2 separate regions of the Homo sapiens genome follow, and region 1 is linked to region 2. Evidence: promoter capture Hi-C in human tissues and cell types (Jung and others, 2019). All regions are on one chromosome and are shown on one strand. Each heading gives the region's core, a stretch centred on a gene start or on the middle of the fragment in contact. The rest is flanking DNA. Distances are from core to core; before and after follow the strand shown. Region 1 has its middle 6.3 kb from the start of GSTM4. Region 2 holds the start of PSMA5 (proteasome 20S subunit alpha 5).

Region 1 (2,700 bases), core at 1-2,500, 220 kb before region 2:
AAAATCAAGCAGAAATTTTTGCCACAGTTATAACAGCCATAACTCTCCGGCAAGGAAAAGCTTTAATCCATCTTGAAGGAGAAAAAAAAAAACCAAAATAATCAGAGCATATTTATAGTCCATTGCAGGAGGCATTTGTATAAAGTGATTGGAGGTCTGAAGGGCCCTCGAGATCTTAGTTCTTGTTCATATCCCACCTTTGCATTTGCTAGGATCGCATTGTTGGCAGTAGGACAAGTTTTTAAAATATCCTTGGAAATACCTCTAAAATTACCCCCACCAATGTTGATTTAGTATAGTTGCCAATTTGTCCCTGCTATTATGAGTAATATCGCAAAGCATTTTTCTGAAATTCCCCTTTAAATCATTTGCCATTATGTGTCAGCTATCCTGACAGCATCAAATAGTCTCTTTTGCCATGAACATCCAAACTTTTCCCACTTCCAGATTTTTTCACTTTTCTACTTTTGGGAATCAGGGGTTTGTCTCTGACAGTTAAAAATGGCCTCTTTGAATCCTCCAAGACCCCTCTTTTCTGTGTGATTTGCAGGAGCATTGATCTTGGTGACGCTACTGGGGTTAGCATGGTGGCCAGCTAAAGTATTACTAGAAATTCTGGGTCTTTGTGCATTGAATGGTGGTCTACTTTTATTACAGCTATTTCCTCAGGTAACAGCAAAGCAGCTGAAAGTTTTATTTTTAATCCGTCATCCAATTTTTGCAGATTTTTGTGGAGGTTAGAAAACTCTTCATTTCCAAAGCATTCCCAATTCACAGACTCCCCAAAAGTGCATCTGCCATTAGTGTATATGCTTACTCTTTTACACTTTAGCAGCCAGCAGACCCAGATGCAGGCAATTATTTCAGTCATTGGAGCTGATTTAATTTCTGGAGTGGTCTCTACTTTAAGGGTGAATTTAGGTCTGTGATAGCATTTTAAAATATGAACAAATAAAATCAGGTCAGGGCTATCCAAGGGAATTTCTAACAAGATGTTTTAAGAGCATGTGAAAAACACTGAGAGTTAACAGAATAATTTGGTGAAAAAAAATAACCTCTAGTAATCTGGGTGCAAAACAACTGAGTCATTTTACATGACAGAGCCAAATCCTAATTTTACTCCTTTGGTACATAATTTTCTAATAGATTATAATAAAGGCTCTATTAATATTCCTTTATTTGTATGCATTTAGGCATACACAGATATATAAATATACAAATAGGTAACAAATTAAAGCTTTCTTTTTTAAGTTGTAATAAAAACACTTAAAATGAGATCTGCTTGTTACCAGTGGAGGGCGTTCAGGTTCTTCGCATTTTGAACAAAGAACTGGACAGAACGCACAAACAAAACAAGGAGCAAACAAATTTTCATTTATTGAAAATGAAAGTACACTCCACAGGGTGGGAGCAGGCCAAGCATAGGGGCTCAAGAGCCCGGATTCAGAATCTTTTGGGGTCCAAATACCTCCTAGAAGTTTGCCATTGGCCACTTGGTGTTCACCCCATGCAAATGAATAGTGGTCCACAATCAGAGGCTGAAGTGAAGTTACAAAGTTACACTTCTATGCAAATATCTGATTGGCTGCAGAAAGCAACCAATCAGAGGAACTGTCCATTTTCCATCTGCAGAGCAGAAAAGCAGGGGGTTTGCAAAGGGAGTAGCTTCTGGTCCTTTTGTTACTTAGGCATGGAAAGTTGGGATTTTCCTTTCGATTTAGCTCTAGAAATTCAGTGTGAATCAGCCTTAGGTTCCCTGCCTCCAGACCCTATTCTCCTGCCGCATACTCTCTTAACAAATTTTTAAGTAAACAGGTACACAGTATTGTTAACTATGAGCACGGTGTTGTATAGCAGATATCTAGAATATGTTTATCTTGTATAACTGAAACTTTATACCTCTTGAATAGCAACTCTCCATTTTGTTACCGAAACACCAGGGATTCAGTCTGAGTCCTGCTGTTTGCTGCACAGATAGCCAACGGCTGAGATGATTACTGCCAAGGAAGAAGGCTTTAATAGAGTGCTGCAGTAGGGGAGATGAGAGATCAGTCTCAAATCCATCTCCCTGACTGGCTAAAATTAGGGGTTTATATAGCAGAGAAAAAAATGTAACAATGTATGGGAAAACAGGAATTCTGAAGGGCTAAGGAAGCAATCATGATGAATGAGGGGCCTGGCATCTCATTGTCTGGATGTGATGATCTGGTGAGTTTCCGTTCTTTGATACCTTCTGAGAGGCCTGGTATTTAATTGTCTGGATCTGGTGAGTTTCAAGCTTTAAGTTTATTTTTTAAAAACTGTCTATGTCCAGGCGCGGTGGCTCACGCCTGTAATCCCAGCACTTTGGGAGGCCGAGGCGGGCGGATCACGAGATCAGGAGATCGAGACCATCCTGGCTAACACGGTGAAACCCCGTCTCTACTAAAAGCACGAAAAATTAGCCGGGCGTGGTGGCGGGCGCCTGTAGTCCCAGCTACTTGGGAGGCTGGGGCAGGAGAATGGCGTGAACCCGGGAGGCGGAGCTTGCAGTGAGCCGAGATCGCGCCACTGCACTCCAGCGTGAGCGACAGAGCGAGACTCCGTCTCAAAACAAAACAAAACAAAACAAAACAAAAACTGTCTCTGGACAGTTGGATTGGTTTTAATTTCCTCCTCTCCCGATCCCCTGAAAACCGTCATTCTACTTTGTTTCTATGA
Region 2 (2,700 bases), core at 197-2,696:
TGGGGAAAACTAATCTTGGTTAATACTCAAAAGGCTTATTTTTACATTTCCTGCACCTTTGAAATGCCTTGGTGACTTACAAACCTAATCTAGGACCAAGAATGAACTTTACTGGAGAGATACAGGCCTTGAGAGGTTAAGGACTTGACTAGTGGTATCACATTAACAACTGGAAATGAGATGCTGGCATTTCCCTTTCCAGCATATACTGCCTGATAAATGATTTCTTTCCCCCGACTCCAGCTTTAAGGTGTAAGTGACAAATAGAAATTGTTCATGTTTATGGTATACAACGTGACGTTTTGATATACATATATATACACACACACACTGCAAATAATTAAATGAAGCTAATCAACATAATCCATCATCTCACATACTTTCCTGTGGTGAGAACATTTAAGGTGTACCCTCTTCACAATTTCAAGTACACAATATATGATTATTAACTATAGAACTCATCCACCTTCTCTGACTGAAACTTTGTATCATTTGACCAACATTTCCCTATATTCCCCACCCCCGTGCCAAGACTTCTTACTTGCCTTTCTTGAACAAATACTTGAATTACAGTGTTATTACGAAGCTGCAAAGTTGCTCCTCAAGCAACTTATTGAAGGGAAGCAAGAAGCGTCGAAAAAGAAAGCGCTTTTTTTTTTTTTTTTTTTTTCGGATAGGGTTTGGCTGTTGCCCAGGCTGGAGTGCAATAGCACGATCTGGGCTCAAAGAAAACACTTATTTTTCACAAACAACAGAAAAAGCAGTGAATATTTTGAAGTCTGGATCCTGAACTCTAGGTTATTTAGGTCTGAAACCTGTACTAGGGGGAGGGGTGCAAGAAAGAGTTGATAAAATTACCTTAACCATGTGGAAACTTTAAGACTTTCTTACATACTAACCCCTCGCCCCCCACTTTTCTCAATAAACGAGCCAAACTGGCTGAAACGAAGGGACTCGTCCGCGGCGCCGGCTCAGACCCACTGTAGCCGACTCATTACCGCCCAAAGTCCTGGAGCCCTCGACCGGGCATGGAGAACACCGTGGAGGAACCCTAAGAGAGGGAATCCTGCGAAGAGAAGTCAGGTGGTGGCCTTGCCGGAAACGGGACCAAAGTCCTCTAGCTGGGATTACGGGAGCCGGCGAGGGACCTATTATGTCAGGGTTCAGACAACCCAGCTCTGCATGCAAGCCTTTCCAATTGCCAGTCTTGGGGCGGGCTCACATCTTCTCTACAAGGCGAACTCACTACACGCCTTGGGTGCCTATCGTCCCTAGCAACCACCCGCGATTTAAGGCGGAAGTACCTCCCTGGTCCTCCTCCTCCTCCGGACCAACCAAGCCCTCGTGAGGAAGCGCGTTGGCCCAATCACCTAGGCGGGAACTACTACCAGCCAATAGGAAGCAGGCACAGGAGGGCGGGCTAAAGAGGTCGCGGTCGCACGCGCAGTTGGTCCTTAGTACTGCGGCCGTGTGGGTGAGTTGGCTGCCGGTGAGTTGGGTGCCGGTGGAGTCGTGTTGGTCCTCAGAATCCCCGCGTAGCCGCTGCCTCCTCCTACCCTCGCCATGTTTCTTACCCGGTCTGAGTACGACAGGTCCGTGCAGCTGGGGGACGTCGGGTGGGAATTATGGGTGGGCAGGCCCGGGACCTGGCCGCGCGGCCTGGGTTCTGCCGTGTCATGGGGCTCCCCAGGAACCCGAGACTGGCCGGACCTGGGGATGTTATGCCCTCCTCAGGCGCCCGCCGTCCTTCCCCAAGCTAGACCACATCGGCGGCACTTGTCCTACCGCTGAGTCACCCCTGGGTCCTAACTCGGTGCGGAAGCGAGAAGCTCCGGCTGGTGCTTGGTAAAGAAGGCGTGAGGAGCCGGAACTCCTACCTTGAACCCGGAGAAGGCCAAGGGTCACTCTTTGCTCCGTTCATCTTTTCGTGCCTAGTATGACTGCCTTGAACAAACAAACAAAAAGTTAAACGTGCTTCCTGGAAGAAAAAGCAACTGGTTTGTAGTAGGGCATGCTGCGGTGTATAGTTTCTTCAGAAGCGCGAAGGCAGTCGTAGCTTTGGCTGGATATATTGTCTGGAGTCTGATTTTATAGGAACTGGAATTTAGAATGGTTTTCAAGAGATTTCTCATCATGCCGATTCCAATTGACCAAAATTTTTTCTGACTTTTTAAAAGTTTAAAGCAAGTTTTAAAAAACTTTTGTGGTATGAAAATGTTCACAATATTAAGTTGTACATATATATGCTGTAGACATTTTTACTTTCAGTTTCTGTTTTCGTCAGTTAAGTTTTTACATAGCTACTCTTTTTTAAAGTCAGGGAAGGCAGACATTTTCTTTGTACTGAGTGGTATGAGATGCTGCATTTCCTGTCAAGTATATGCTGATCCTGTCGAAGTTTTACCACCTGCAGTTACCACTTTTTCATCTTTTTTACTGACTCGTAGAAGATGTGTGTGAAGTTTTGACATATTTCCCCACTGTCCTATAAAGTGACTTTGTTGGTCGATATTTAACTTCCAGAACATTGAAGAGAATCATCTTCGGGTGACATAATTTTGAGTTAGGGTGTGTATGATAGAAATTGTTATGCTTATCAGAAGGCATTTATTAAATTTTGTGGCCATTTACTTAACATATGTATTGACTGCTTTGTTACTTATTTTTCTGTCTTCCCAAGACGGCCTAAAATACATCCCT

Evidence for each region. The method cuts DNA at HindIII sites, captures the fragments that hold promoters and counts their contacts. A contact is called where the count stands out against the background at its distance.
Region 1: a fragment that was not itself captured here is called in contact with the fragment with the promoter of PSMA5 in region 2 in 4 of the 25 tissues and cell types used here (dorsolateral prefrontal cortex, hippocampus, lymphoblastoid cells and 1 more).

The regions. Positions count from the first base shown.
Region 1 is chr1:109,648,438-109,651,137 of GRCh38, reverse strand. No RefSeq gene overlaps it. Among named protein-coding and RNA genes, the nearest start is that of GSTM4, 6.3 kb to the left of the region's middle. The HindIII fragment of the contact is 6,271 bases long and covers 1-2,700 here.
Region 2 is chr1:109,425,194-109,427,893 of GRCh38, reverse strand. It overlaps PSMA5 (proteasome 20S subunit alpha 5), which reads left to right and starts at 1,446. Exons shown (of 9, transcript NM_002790.4): 1 at 1,446-1,592. The coding sequence starts at 1,564. RefSeq lists enhancers at 886-945, 452-1,383. The HindIII fragment of the contact is 7,725 bases long and covers 1-2,700 here.